Linked DNA regions of Homo sapiens: all the other regions are linked to region 1. The links are contacts of gene promoters, found by promoter capture Hi-C in human tissues and cell types (Jung and others, 2019). All regions are on one chromosome and are shown on one strand. Each heading gives the region's core, a stretch centred on a gene start or on the middle of the fragment in contact. The rest is flanking DNA. Distances are from core to core; before and after follow the strand shown.

Region 1 (3,770 bases), core at 820-3,319:
ACCTTTTTCCAGACTTCCAGGCTCAGAGTCTGGGATGCTGAAACATGCTCATTTTCAAGAGACTGAGGTATACATGTGCATCAGCTTCACCTGCATGTTGCCTCCCAGAAGCTACCTGGCAACATGCAACGTCAGAAGGTTGCCTTGTGAGTATAGAAATAGAATAGAGGGAATGAGTTCTACGACCGAACTGTTTAATGACCTCAGCATCCTATGTCCTGATATTGTGCCTGTGGAGGATAACATTTTTATTTTATTTTTAAAGACAAGATCTTGGTCTGTTGCCTACGCTGGAGTGCAGTGGTGCGATCGTGATTCACTGCAGCCTTGAACTACTGGGTTCAAATGATTCTTCCACCTCAACCTCTTGAGTAGCTGAGACTACAGGTGTGCACCACTACTCCTGGCTCATTTTAATTTTAATTTTAATTTTGTAGAGACAGGGTCTGCCTATTTGCTCAGGTTGGTCTCAAACTCCAGTGATCCTCCTGCCTTGCCCTCCCAAAGTGCTAGGATTACAGGCATGAGCCACCTCACCCATGACACATTTTTTTTTTTTTCTGTATCTGACACCAAGAGTTTGTTGGTCTGAGAGATTAGGTCAGACCCTCTGGACAGGATCTCCCTGACTGACCGGTTTCTTCAGCCTGGCCCATTCTTTCTCTAGATTTATTAATGATTCAGTGACGTGCCCGTTGATCTAGTTGCCCTGGAAATAATGCCTCTGTTTGAGATGACATTTCATATCCTTACACTCTGATTCACCATTCAATCATTTACAAATATGAACACTTCTGTGTACAACAAATGGAGGATACAGTAGACAGACATTTCAGTGGAAGAGATACAGATAATTAATATGTAAATGAGTGAAAAAGAGAGATTACTTCAGATGGTGATAAATGGTATGAAAAATTTCCAGCAGGGTAACGAGATTGAGTATTGAGATGGAGGATGGTGTGGGGCTGTAGAAAGGGGGGACTGGGGATATCTCTCTGAGGATGTAGAATCTGAACTGAGCCCTGCATGTGAGGAAGGAGCCAGTCATGATCTTAAAAGTTTCGTTCTCCGCCGGGTGGGGTGGCTCACACCTGTAATCCCGGCGCTTTGGGAGGCTGAGGTGGGCGGATCACCTGAGGTCGGGAGTTTGAGACCAGCCTGACCAACATGGGGAAACCCCGTCTCTACTAAAAATACAAAATTAGCCAGGCGTGGTGGCACATGCCTGTAATCCCAGCTACTAGGGAGGCTGAGGCAGAAGAATCGCTTGAGCCCGGGAGGTGGAGGTTGCAGTGAGCCGAGATTGCGCCATTGCACTCCAGCCTGGGCAACAAGAGCGAAACTCCATCTCAAAAAAAAAAAGTTTCGTTCTCAGAGGAAACACTTCACGCCTATCCTGTGAAGTGGAAGTTCATTGCTTGTCTCCAGAGAGACAATGGTATAAATTAGGCAGCTATGGTTGCCGTAGTGTTGCTGGTATTGGGGATTAAGTACATGGCGATTAAATGGTCATGTGGCCGTGCTTTCCAACAAAAATTCCAGACACATCGTCTTACATGTAGCATGAGGACTGGAAATATTTGAAATCAGGGTTGTCTTGGACTTTCCAAGGCACATGATTACCATAATTAACAGGCTACAGAGGGCTGGCCTGGGCCTGACCCCACGCTCCACACTGTTGATATGGAAACTGTTCCCAGTTTCTAAAAAGCCAAATAACAGGTGAACTTTTGGAATAAAATCACTTGCCTTTTGGAACCATATTTCTTTTCCCCAACAACATTACATGTTCTTTCCTCAGCAAAAAGTCTGAGTTGTACACATTTTTGAATCCCTCAAAGCATTTAGCAGAGTGCTGGGCATACGGAAGACAGCAGGATCCCGTGGCTTTGCCTGAAACGCGGAACCTGGTCTTGACTTTTGAGTGACTGAGCCCTCCTGGTGCCCGCACTCTGGCCGGGAGTGCCAAGCAGCGTTCTCCCTCCCGCCGCACGGGGGCACAATGGGAAGCCTGCACAGTGAGGAAGAGCGGCTGGAGCCGGTCTTGTGCCGGGGAGGTCGCTGCTCCCAGAATGCACCTGGCATCAACACGGCGGCGGCGGCGGCGGCTTCCAACAGGCTCTGGGGCGCCGAGCGGACAGGAACGCAGCACGGGGGCTCCGAGGCGGGGTCTGGGTGTTGAGGGGCGACTGGAGCCATGGCGGAGTCGGCGCCTGCTCGGGTAAAGAGGCACCGGCGCGCTGGCTCGAGGGCGCGTTGGGGATGGCGGAGTCCCCTGCCGGGGGCGGGGCTTCGCGGTTTGGACGCCGCCGGGGTCTTGGTTTCCCGGGGCTGCCGTTGGCGCGGGTGAACGCGGACCCTCCTCTTCGCGACCCCAGTGCTCTGCCCTTTTTTCCCTCCGCTTCCTTCTGCAGCGGGGTCGGAGCCTCGGCGCCGTGCGCCCTTGCCCAGAAACTTCTCTGACGCTTGCTTTAGGTTGGTGGATTTGTGACCCTGCCCACACATTTTCTCTTTCGTGCCAAAAGAGCCCGTTCCCAGGTTGGAGTGTTTCCAGATTGGAAACGGTCTCCGTCGCTACGAGTGAGCTCTCCCGCTGCCCGGGAGACCCCAGGACTTGCCTCTCTGCGACCACCTCCTCTTCGGTCCGATGTGTTGTCGGTTTTTCCAGTGCTGCAGATTTCTGTCTGGGGGTTGCAGCCACAGGTTGAAGTCAGCCTGGGCTGCTTCTCCTTGGGGACGGATGTTATCTACAGTGCAGTTGCTGCATTTTGTTTGTAGAGCTGCCCAAACTCTCTCCTTCACCCCCCCCCCAACACCCCCCTCCCAGCCCACCGACCATCCCCATTCTGGGAATGTCAAGATACGGAGTTTGGTGTGAGGAAAATCCTATTTGTGGAGTCACGAAGCTTTCAGCTGTCCATTTGGGTGATTTTAGGCAACTGTGTTCGCTTCTCTGGGTCTCTTTCGTTTTCTTAACTGTAAATCGAGAGTGTTGGAGTAGTTGCTAGATGATCTCCAAGGCTTTAAGTTTCCTTCCAGCTCCGACATTCTCATACTGTTCCCATACTGTTTCAAAGTAGTGGTTAATTTAACAACACCAGAGGGTTTGCAACGGAAGGGGCAGCTGGAATTGAATTGACTTTTAATGAAGTGTTCCTTGGTCTAGAAACACTTCGAGAATCATGTTAGATCTTTGTGAGAATGGAGGGCTAAGGAAATTCTGTGGGGAAAATTTGACCATGAGCAGGGTGCGCTATATTTGATTCTTGTAGAAAGTGCGTTAAGAACTAAGAACGGAGAGATTGGGAGACTTAGAGAACACAGTATTTGCTTTCAAGGAAGTTAACAGTTGAATTGGGAAGACAAGACACAAATGTTTACAATATTAACCTCATCTGACTCCTATAAGCTAGGCTGAGCCAGTCAAAGACTTGGCTTTTCCACAAGATCTAGTTAGTGTTAGAGTCCGGCGAGAGGATTCTGCCACAGTTCTTCCTGCCAGGTCACTCCACAATTACCTACATGTCGTCAGTAGACCTTGTTAGGAAGAAGCCTTAAAGGTCCACCACAGGCCAGGCGCAGTGGCTCATGCCTGTAATCCCAGCACTTTAGGAGGCCGAGGAGGGCGGATCACGAGGTCAGGAGTTCAAGACTAGTCTGGCCAATGTGGTGAAACCCGGTCTCTACTAAAAATACAAAAATTAGCCGGGCGTGGTGGCGGGTGCCTGTAGACCCAGCTACTCGGGAGGCTGAGGCAGAATAATCGCTTG
Region 2 (3,770 bases), core at 879-3,378, 380 kb after region 1:
TGCAGAGAGAAGTACACGGACTTCCAAAATCCAATAATGAGTGTCAGGCCTTACCCAAAGAGACCAGCATCTCGCAGTTGCCCCTCATCACGTGCTTGCAGAGCTCCTTCTGCCAGTCCTCCAGCTTGCCCCACACTTGCTCAGAGAACTACACAGCCACATCATCAAATGTCATAGGCACCTGAAACCACAAGCGTCACACTCGCTCACCCACACGCTCACAGGCTTGGCCCGCGGCCTCCCCAACCCCAGGGCGCCCCAGGGCTACCTTAGGGGACTCCCCCTTGCTGCCCGGGGGCAGCCGCAGGATCCAGAAGTTCCTGTTGTGCAGCAGGTTCTCCACGTTCTCCAGCCGCCTCTGCAGCAGCCCGTACTCCTGCAGCAGGGTCCCCAGCACGGCCCACTTGCCCTCCAGCTGGTTCCCGAACTCCACGGCTGTCTTCTCGCAATCAGCCAGCTTCTTCTCGGCCATCCCGGTTTGACCTTCTAGGGAAAGCAGGTGAGCAGCCTGCGATTCAATCTTCCTCTCCATGGCCTGAATCGTGGCTGCCATCGTCCACGGAGAAATCTTTCAGAAACAAAAGAGAAACTGGCATCATTCATTCCATCCACTGTCTTCACTGAGCCCCTCTCTCCCTAGGCACGGGGGAGTTGGGCTGGGAGTCCATATGTGTGGACAAGTGGGGCTATCCTATACCACATGCCAGATCTCAGGTTGGCCATCACCTGCTTGGGTATGTTAGGTCTATGTCTGGGTGGGTGCCTTTACTCCAGGCCTCTGCAGCACAATGCAGACCCTTATCACGGTGCTTATCACCCTACACAGTAATTTCCTACCCACGCCTACACTGTTGGCTCCCTGAACATGGTATTGCACCTTTTCACACCACGGTCCTTGACACATGCCTGGCACTCAGTGCAGTTTTGCTACGTATAGTGTGACTTAGCATTGCTCGGTATTTTAGTGGGGAAATGGTAAACTGCAGATTTACTAGAGCCCAGCCTGCACCTCCCCTCATGATTACACAGGAACTGTCTACTGATGATGACCCAGCCAAAAAAAAAAAAAACCACAGCTCGTTCACTGAAACCGCACAAACAAGAGTACTGCTCATTTTTTTTAAAGCATCTTATGTCCCCTTTTAATAAACATAAAAATCTAATGGCCAGTTCCTCTTCCCCCAGGACAGTCTCATTTTGTCCCCTTCCCATCTGCCCCTCCCCACAAGCTAAAATCCCCATGACTGCAAATCTCCATCAGTCCAGAGTTTTTTGACACTGCATGAGCCCTACAAGATTCTTTCTCTTTCCCAATTCCCATCTCCTCAAGGTAAAAATGATGGCTTCAATCATTTTTGTAGCTGTACTAGGAGTGGTGACATACACTCTGGTGAGGAAAATGGACATATGCCACAAACTTACACTTATATATGGGCAAAAACCATCTTAATTCGAGATGAGGGGCTTCCCTGTCCTTGGAAACATTCACATGGTGTATCAGTGACTGGCAGCTGGGGACAAGGAAGAATGAGCACATTTTGCCTTGGGTGGGGAGCTGGACTATTTGAGCCACCCACATCTGAATGTGGGACCTATAGGGCAGAGAGAAGCTCCTGGTATCCATGCCCAAGGATCGACGCCCCCTTACAACATTCTGCAAAATAATTCCTCAACAAAAGGTTGGTGATTGTTTGCAAAATGAAGAAGTGGCTACTAGAAACCAGTGTGGATGCACTCAGGGAAAGTCACTGAGAACTACAATGTGAATAGATACCTCAAAAAATAGAGACAAAAGGAGAGTTTGAGCAGAAGCAGAAAAAAACTTCTCCAGGACAGTACTCAAGGGCCTGTCTGGCTGTTTGGAGGGAAACAGGACCCAAAGAAGGTAGGACTCTAAAAGGTCTTCAAGGCTGGGAGGTTCTGGACAAGCTGAACTGTTTCTAGGCGAAAACCCCAATGTGGATGGCGAGTCTTGCTCTCAAGGAGTAGGTGGTCCTACAAGTACCTGGGTGGGCCCGCTTGGTTCTGGGTTTGAGTCTGCCCTCCACCTAAGGCCACTGTTCCCTCACCTCTCCTTTCTTAGATCAATCCCTGCCACGTGAAGTCGAACGCCAAGAGTTTACTCCAGAAGCTTCCTTTCAACTGGTCACCAGCTCCCCATCCACTGAAATCCTACCCATCCTCCACGTGCATTATTACAGTCTTTGTGTGGCATGAAAGGGACCTCTGCATAAACTACTTTATTAAGAAAATATTAGTCTTTTACTCATGGATAATAAAGTACATGGTTTTCTCACAATTCTGATGGGGCCAGGAAACCCTGTGTAAGGCCTTCACACTATGTGGTGGGAGGTGTCGACTGTGCGCTGCTCACTCCAGCCCAGCTTCTTACTGACAAGTGGCTGGAATATGTGGGGCTGTCCTTGGACTCCTGCCAGGAAGCCGAAACTCTTTGCTTGAGAGGAGCTGATGGTAAGAGGAGCCCGATCCCTCACTGGCCGCCCACCCGCAGGATGAAGTCCTGGCATGCAAGCCCCTTCCTAGTCTCTCTCTGCAGACTCCTTTCCCACTGCCTCCAAACCAAAACCATCTTCTCCAGGCTCATGGACTCCTTTCTGTGCCTGCACACGCCCTGCACTGTCCCGTCTCTCTGCGCCTTTGCCCAGGCACTCCTCCCTCCCTGAAAGCACCACCGGTCTAGCTGGGCCTGAAATCCTAGCCGTCCCTAAAAGCCCGGCTCAAATCACAGAGGCGCAGAGCATCAGGCCAGGAGGGGTGGACAGCGGTACCAAGAGGCCCCCTGACACTCCTTCCCCCGGAGCCCACCGCAAGCTTCCACCTGGGCGCCAACACTCACCCCTTCCTATTTTGCACAATTATTGCCCGCGTACCTGCCTGCCTGGTCCTTGAACACACAGCCACTGTGTGTCTTTTCACACTTCCAGGTGTGCAAGCCTGGGCAAGTTAACTTCTCTAAGCCCCAGGTTTTTCTTTTGCATGACAGAGATAACACCAGTACCCATCCCACAGGCTTGCTGTGAGGACAGAAGGACAGACTAAGGCCTCAACAGGACTTGGTGCAGTACCTGGCTCTATATTCCCTTCCGCGCCGACCCTGGGGAGCTGGGCACGTAAGGGGTGTCGGTATACGCGGATTCGAAGCCTCACAACTCCCAGGTACCACTAAGCCGCTGGGGGGAGCTGGGGGAGGGACCCACAGGCCGAGCGCCAAGCAGAGAAAAGAGCCTCGGGTGGGGGGACGCAGATGTAGGGTTCAGCGGCTGGGGCGGGGGCAGGAAGCCCCGGAGGGGCCAAGGATCTTGGCGTGGGGCGGCCCGGGGCGGGGACAACCGTTCCGCCAGCGCTCGGGCTCGGCCCGGAGTGGGGGGCCCGGCTGGCAAGCGCAGTAGGCCCCGGCAGACGCCGCGGCCCTGTTCCCCGGAGCCCCAGGCGCGGTAGTACGGCTCGGCTCCCGCAGCCCCCGTGTGCCGGGCCCGGGTCGCCCGGGGAATCCAGGCCGCGAGTTCGTGCGCGCGCTGGTCGCCCTTACCGGAGCTGCGGCCGCCTCCTCCATGGCCCTGCGCTGTCCCCCGCGGCCCAGATAAAGTCGTCGCCGCTGCTGCGCGCGGCCCCACGCAGGGCCCGCCTCCCGGTGCTCTCCGCAGGCGGCGCCCGCCCAGCCCTGTCTCTGCCGCCGCTGCTCCCTGACTGCCCCTGCCCTGCGCCGCCCGCAGTTGCGTCAACGCCTTTAGCGCCCGGCCGGTCCGCAC
Region 3 (3,770 bases), core at 327-2,826, 360 kb after region 1:
CCTCCGCATCTTCCTTGGCAGTCCACCCTACTGCCGAAAAGGGAAACCCAGAGGATTTTAACGTTATCATATAAATCACTGCGGAAGTCAGTGTTTCCCGAGGCTGTCAGGCCAGGAGCGGAGAGGAGTGGCTGGCTGCTGGCTGCCTTCTGAGAAGGTGCCCAGGGCTACAAGGCAAAGGCCTGTGGGTAAAGGAGAAAATTCCAGCAGGAAAGAAAGGCAGTTTGAAGAAGAGACAGTTTACCAGCTCCTATGACAAGAGCAGAGGCGGGGCCTTGGCACAGCTGAGGAGGTGAAAAGGAGTTAACCCAAGTGTTCCTCCAAGTCTTCCTTCTAGAAAGGACAGGGTTCTGCCTGCCATCAGGAAGGTCACGTGGGAGGCTGGACACAGTGGCTCATGTCTCTCATCCCAGCACTTTGGGAGGTCAAGGCAGGAGGATCGCTTGAGACCAGGAGTTTAAGACCAGCCTGGGCAACATAGTGAGACTTCACCTCTACAAAAAATAAAATACATTAGCTGGGTATGATGGTACACACCTGTGGTCCCACCTACTTGGGAAGCTGAAGTGAGCTATAATTGTTTCACTGCACTCCACTCTGGATGACAGGAAAACACCCTGTTACTTAAAGACAAAAATGAATCAAGTGGGGTTGTTGTCTAGCAACATATTCTGGTCCTTGAAACTATGTTAACGCTGGCCCTCTTAAGGCTTTCGGGGATTCCAAAATCTACTCAGCTACCGCCTTCTCACTATTTCTTGGAGTCGCTCCTTCTCTATCATTCTCCATTAATATTAATTGAAGAAGTGAAAGCTGGAAGAATCACCTTCTGTCCTAGATTGTAGTTGTGTTGGAACACTGGACCAGGAGAGCCAGGCCCAACTCTGTCATTAAGTGTTTTAGAACAGACACCTCAGTCACACAAAGTTTCTCTTGTATGTGCCCACCATAAACAGTTACTGGAGGATGACTCTCAAGGCCATTCTAGTGGCTGCTGGCAGTGCTTTTCCAGCCTGCTGCCCATAACTAAGGACTCAAGGCAGGGAAGACACAGGCACGGGGGTTATCTGAGGAGCGGGGACTGCCTCTTGCTATGCACAAGGTCAATGAGTTTTCACTGAGGTAGACCTGGCAGCTCCTAGGAGCTTCCATTGTGAAGTGGCAACACACAGGTGACTGGTCATCTGGGTGTGACCGCACAAGTCAAAGGCATTAATTGACCCCCACAGCAGCAGGAAGGGGTATAGCTCAGGGTTAGAGCATAAGACTGCAGACCGAGAGGCCACCAGTTTGATTCCAGATGCCCCCTCCGCATTTTCAATTTTGACATTTTTACATAGGTGCCCACATTTTAAGTTCTTCCTTATTAGACACTTAGACACTAGGGTAAATGTTTCATTTTTCTTTTTTTTTTTTTTCTTCTGAAACCAGCAAATGGTGAGGCTAGAATGTGGTGGTTCTTAACCCCAGGTATAAACTAGAATCACCTGAAGAGTCCGTAAAAGTGCCACTTCCCGGGCCCCACCCCAGACCAATTAAATCGGAACATCTAGAGTGGGGCCCAGGCTGGTGAAAGCTTCCCAGGGGGCTCTAGACTGCAGCTAAGGGCAAGACCCCGCTTTAGCAGAGCTTCCAAGAAGCCTCCTTAGCCCAAGACTGCATTGTTCCCACTCTGCCTCTTCTTATTCATCCTTATTTGAACCCCGAATATCTAGAGAAAGGTCTCAGTTAATTAGGAAAGTGAATTTTGCCAAGGCTGCGGATGCACGTCTGTGACACCGCCTCAGGCGAGTCCTGACCACCTGTGCCCAAGGTGGTAGGGGCACAGCTTGGTTTTATACATTTTAGGGACACACGAGCCATCAATCAATATGTATAAGATGTACACTGGTTCCATCTGGAAAGGTGGGACAATGCCAGGTGAAGGTGGGACAACTGGAAGGTGGGAGGGGGCTTCCAGGTCATAGGTAGAGACGAAAGGTTGCATTCTTTTGCGTTTCTAATGAGCCTCTCTAAAAGAGGCAATCTGATACAGATTTATCTCATAAGCAAGCAGAGCGGTGACTTTGAATAAAATCAGGTTTGCCCTAAGCAGTTCCCAGCTTGACTTTTGCCTTTAGCTTAGTGATTTGGGGGCCCCAAGATTGATTTTCATTTCACACTTATGTGGACAGCACTTAAAACTAGACCAGAACAGCATCTTCCAGGAACAAAGCCTCTTTCTGCATTTCCTAGTTGTACCCCTTCTGGATCCAGTCATTCTGCCTGGGATGGGGTAGTACCGGTCTTCTATTTCCAAGGCAAACCACCAAGATCTATTGCTCAATGAGTAAGCCCTTATAAGGCCAAGACAGTTTGCAGAGGATGAAATGTCAACATGTTAAAGTATAAGTAAAAGTTCTACGTTGTGTTCAGATGTTCCAATTATCAACGGCAATTTTATGTCACAGTTAAGCTTTAAAGGCGAACTTCTGCAGAAGGGATCACTGAATTATATCAACCATCTCAAAAACTAGAGGATGTCATGGCGTTCTATGCTTTAGAGAACAAATAGCTTTTTTGACACAAATCTTAAAATTCATGGAGGTTCAGCTATACAGCATAGAATTCAGAAGCACAATTCATGATTTTTAGTATCCCTTATACTAATCATGTTTTATGAACCTTTTTAAAAAGTATCTAAAATACATTTAATAATTCAGATTTATGTACACAACAGAAGTTTATATTTTAGATAGGTTAAAAACATGTTCCTGTAATAAAACTATCTCAAAGCAAGAAAGTCTTACTATCTTTACATTGAATGGCAGGAAAACACAACAGAGAAGCAGGCATTGAAGACAGAGCCTGGTCAAGTGTAGTGTCACTTGAGGCTCTGTCTAATTTGATCATTTAGCAAATGGCGCTTTGCTCTACTCCTCTGAGTTGAAAATATTCTGCATCCTGTGACTCTCCTTATTAGTATAAGATGTAGTGGCCTGAAAAACAGAGCTTCTTTTATTTTCAATGATGTGCTGCATAATTTCCTATTCATTAAAGTAGATTCCTTTTGTTAACAAGAGATGTGAACTTTTTATTTAGTACTCCCTGCCAACCCCTCCAAAAAAAAGTGGCATTGGTAACTCAAAGGATAAATGCTAGAGGGGATGGGCACCCATTCCCCATGATGAGCTTATTTCACATTGCATGCCTGTTTCACAACAGTTCATATACCCCGTAAATATATACGCTCACTAGATACCCACAAAATCTTAAGGTTTTTAAGAAGTAGCTTTTGCTGTTCCAGTTTCACAAACACTTAGAGCTTTGGCCTAGAACTTGGGTACTTGCCCTTTTCCCGTCCCTGCCCTCCAATGCCTTCTATTAGTGGAAACGGTCTCTCGGGGCAGTCTCCTTCCTGTATCCCCATTACTGTTTCAGCTCCTCCACCCAAGCCCGCCAGCCCTCCAGCTACTCTGTAAACAGTCTCCTTCCTCCTTAGCCTTTCCCTGCAAGTCTGCCTTTTTATCCATCCTTGTACACCTGAAGGCCAGCTTTCCCCTGAAGCCATCCCTCCCCTTCAACCTCTGGAAGGGACAGGGCAGGGTCACCTTCTCAGCCTCGTTCTCCACGTTGCCCCCAAACTCCAGCTCCTCCACCATCTCTCCATGCTTCTCCTCTCTCAAAGCCATCTTCTTTCACCACTCCCTCCTCTCACCATTCATGTCTTCTCTGACATACGGGACTCCACAAACAGTGGACACTTTTAGAACCAGGCTAACAATCTTATT
Region 4 (3,770 bases), core at 506-3,005, 350 kb after region 1:
TAATAAGCAATAATTCTGTTCCTTTCTAATTCACCTTTTCTCCGTTTCCCACCATGCCTGGTTCACGCTTTGCCCTTCTTCCCAAGTAATGATTCCCACCCTACCTCCTTTATTCTCTTTGGATGACCTGTTTTCTACCTGACTGAGAAGACCAAGATATAGAGTTCCCTGAGCATCCTCTGCTTCTCTGCATCTTCACCTTCTCCTCAACCCCTCCAGGGTAAGAGAGAAAGCCTGGTTTTAACCAATTCCCTGCCAATGGATATTTTGATGGTCTCCAGTGTTTGCTGTGAGGAATTAAAAAACCGCTATCATGAATCTCCACATACATGTGTCTTCATGCAATTATAGGAATATTTTTGAAGGATAAATTACCACAAGTGATACTCTGTAGAGAATCATCTTTTCTATGTTTTCTTTTTTTTTTTGTTTTTATTTTAGGTTCAGGGGTACATATGCAGGTTTGTCATATAGGTAAGCTCATGTCATGTAGGCTTGGTGTACAGATTATTTCATCAGCCACGTACTATGCATATGTATTTTTTCTGATCTTCTCTCCTTCCACCATCCACCCTCAAGTAGGTGCCAGTGTGTGGCATTCCCCTCTCTGTGTCCATGTGTTCTCATCATTTAGTTCCCACTTGTAAGTGAGAACATGCATTATTTGATTTTCTGTTCCTGTGTTAGTGGCTAAGGCTAATGCCCTTACAGGTCCATCCATGTTGCTCCAAAGGAAATGATCTCATTCTTTTTTATGGCTGCGTAGTATTCCACAGTGAATATGTGCCACATTTTTAAAAGACTAAGTATTATTTTTTGAGTATTTTTTTTTAACAAAAGCAATTTGCTTTTCCCTTGACAAATTATCATGAACAGTATTCTACGTCAAATACAAGTCTCCAGACACAGGCTCTGGTTTCCTTTCAGTGCTGGAGAAGGTGGTGTCACCTAGTTAGAGTTCCATCCCCAGCCTAGCACACCTCACATGATGCTCAACAATTGCTACTGTCTAAGAGAATTATCTGGATGACTTGAAGGGTCTCTCCATTTATAAAGCTCAACAAGGCTACCAGGGTGTCCTTAACCAGGTACACACAAAAGTGATGGAGAAAGAAGTATCAGTGACAGGAGGGAGGCCAGAATTCAGAGAAACAACCGGCGTAGACATCCAAGCCGGAAGAGCTCGGTCTTGCTCTTGCTGTGCTGACACATGAAAAGGGTGTTAATTACACTGTCTACCTATGACTGGGGGTATAGCTCAGGGGTAGAGCATTTGACTGCAGATCAAGAGGTCTCTGGTTCAAATCCAGGTGCCCCCTACACTGTTCTACTTTTTAATCACCAAAGTGGGTCCTGGGTCATAAGCTCCACCCAATCCACCCTGCAAAAAAAATGACACAGCCTATCTAATCTCTGACCCACAGCATCTCTGAAGTGCAGACTCAATAGCCCTCAGGTGATTTCATGGGTTTTAAAGTTTGTAAGGCACATCTGTCTCCTGCAGCCCTCTGGATACCACTCCAGGACTTTTGCAGAGTTCTCCAGAATCTCCCCAGGCACATCCATGTGATTCCCAAGAGAGGGCTGGGCCATGTCTCTAAGTCCTGCTGTATTCTCCACAGCACCCAGCTTCCACTGTGGCACAGGAGAACCTGAACCAGCCACAGTTTCATGCCCGCCTCCAACAGGTATGAGAAATCTAATGAGCTTAGATTTCTAAGTGTGCTGCACCCTGGACTTTGGCTCTGGGCCCTCAGGTTCTGGATTTCCCATCTGGGGCTGCTGCAGACTCACACCCTGGCCTACCCAGACCAAGGACTGGGGAAAAGCAGGATTCTGGGAGGCTCTGTGAGACTGTGGGCAAGGAGCGAGATGATAGAGGAAGTCAGCTGGGACTACCCAGAGGACTGACCTGATCCCATCAACCTCTTCTCTCTCCTCCATGCAGACAGATACAGATCATGGGCTCCAGCAAGGGAAAGGAAGCTGGTGTCAGATTCCAAAATCAGTAAATAAAAATAAGAATCCGTAAAGGGCACCCTGATTGGAACCTTTTGGTCTGTCCCCTAAGGCTCATCTCATTATTATGTGATGAAAACCTTGCAGTCTGTAGCCTTTTGGGTGAGAGGAGCACACCATGGGTAGTAACTGTGGTCTCTCGAGCCCCCTCTGATGGTGGTGGTAGCTGAACAAAGCAAGATGCAGGATGTGGTCTTTTCTGGAATATTCTGATGTTCCCAAAAATACCAAACCTCCAGGAGCTTCACAGATGCAGCAGAGCCACCAATAATCCCCAATTATGTGGATATTTCCCACTCCTCAGTGCAGTTTCCAGGCAAATGGCTGAAGGGGCTATTATGGGAAATCTGGCAGGAGGATTCACTGTCCATGACTGGGTATTTTGGCAGAGTACTTTTCTCAAGCTTGGCTTTCTCGTCATCAGGGGAGGCAGGTTCTTTGAGCAGATTCAGACCTGGGGAATGGGTCAGAGGCCAGGAACCTCCATTGTGCCGGCTATGGTGGTAGCTCAGGTCTACACGTCTAGGGGACCATGATGGGCTCCCCATTGTCAGGCCTAGAATCCTCCCACTGATGAGTCACAGCCAAGACCTGTGTGGCAGAGACCATGGAATAACATTCTGTGGTAAAGTGTCCACTGCTTGGCCTCTGACACCCTACGATCCTCCTAGCCCCACTGAAATCAGGAGCTTCCTTTCCGCTATCATCACTCCCACCAGCATTTTTGTCTACAGAGAACAGCTACCAGGATTCTTTTCATGAATGTAGAAGCTCCACACACCTAGGTATTTTTCAAGCCAGGGCAAGTCACGTGTGATAAATCCACTCCAGCTTACCTACCCCCTGAAGCCAATGTATTCTTTCTACATTATAGCAAGAAATTCCTAGTATCTCAAATGCATTTAGAATTGGCCTCCTGTGGCTGGGCGCGGTGGCTCATGCCTGTAATCCCAGCACTTTGGGATGCCGAGGCGGGCAGATCACGAGGTCAGGAGATCGAGACCATGCTGGCTAACATGGTGAAACCCCGTCTCTACTAAAATTACAAAAAATAAGCCGGGCATGGTGGCGGGCCCCTGTAGTCCCAGCTACTCGGGAGGCTGAGGCAGGAGAATGGCGTGAACCCGGGAGGCAGAGCTTGCAGTGAGCCGAGATCGCGCCACTGCACTCCAGCCTGGGAGACAGAGCGTGACTCCGTCTCAAAAAAAAAAAAAAAAAAAGAATTGGCCTTCTGTGAATCCAGGCTTAGGTCCACCAACTGAGCAAACAGGTTTATCCCAGCTGCTCCAGCTATGGTATCTTAAATAGAATTTTAATTGGGAACACTCCTAATAAAAAAATTCAGACTCATTTAAAGTTATACCCTTTCTACTTTATAAAGTATTCCAAGAATCTACATCCACACATGCTCTTTAAGTTTTTGCTGACAGACATTAGCCAGTTGGAAATGATTTTGGTGTGTGAGTCTTTGCCTCCCAGCAACTGGTGCCCAGGCTCAACTGAGATCTTACTCTCACTGTAAGTCAAGGGACAATGAGGATGGGGAAACCAATCTCTTGCAGTGAAAACCCTTCCATCTGGGCTGGTCGGCTTTTGCGGGAAGAAGGGGCAGGCTTGGAGATTAGGGAGAGCTGGTGATTTGGGATAAACTGAGTTTTCCAAATGCTTCCATAAACCTACCTTAAAATTCCTGAAGTTCCACTCTCTTAATCACTGACCTATTTTCAGCTGGGAGACCGGGGGAAGCTGCA

The links. The method cuts DNA at HindIII sites, captures the fragments that hold promoters and counts their contacts. A contact is called where the count stands out against the background at its distance.
Region 2: a contact is called between a fragment that was not itself captured here and the fragment with the promoter of ZNF212 in region 1, in 3 of the 25 tissues and cell types used here (dorsolateral prefrontal cortex, hippocampus and spleen).
Region 3: a fragment that was not itself captured here is called in contact with the fragment with the promoter of ZNF212 in region 1 in 1 of the 25 tissues and cell types used here (dorsolateral prefrontal cortex).
Region 4: a fragment that was not itself captured here is called in contact with the fragment with the promoter of ZNF212 in region 1 in 1 of the 25 tissues and cell types used here (dorsolateral prefrontal cortex).

Annotation. Positions count from the first base shown.
Region 1 is chr7:149,237,582-149,241,351 of GRCh38, forward strand. ZNF212 (zinc finger protein 212) reads left to right here and starts at 2,070. Exons shown (of 5, transcript NM_012256.4): 1 at 2,070-2,221. The coding sequence starts at 2,198. RefSeq lists an enhancer at 1,837-2,131. The HindIII fragment of the contact is 24,745 bases long and covers 1-3,770 here.
Region 2 is chr7:149,620,992-149,624,761 of GRCh38, forward strand. It overlaps the pseudogene ZNF767P. Among named protein-coding and RNA genes, the nearest start is that of TRC-GCA19-1, 9.7 kb to the left of the region's middle. RefSeq lists silencers at 3,287-3,386, 3,407-3,770. The HindIII fragment of the contact is 3,946 bases long and covers 156-3,770 here.
Region 3 is chr7:149,602,408-149,606,177 of GRCh38, forward strand. It overlaps the pseudogene ZNF767P. Among named protein-coding and RNA genes, the nearest start is that of TRS-AGA5-1, 4.1 kb to the right of the region's middle. The HindIII fragment of the contact is 3,579 bases long and covers 1-3,366 here.
Region 4 is chr7:149,583,478-149,587,247 of GRCh38, forward strand. TRC-GCA15-1 (tRNA-Cys (anticodon GCA) 15-1) reads left to right here and starts at 1,248; the gene lies at 1,248-1,319. It also overlaps the pseudogene ZNF767P. The HindIII fragment of the contact is 5,704 bases long and covers 1-3,770 here.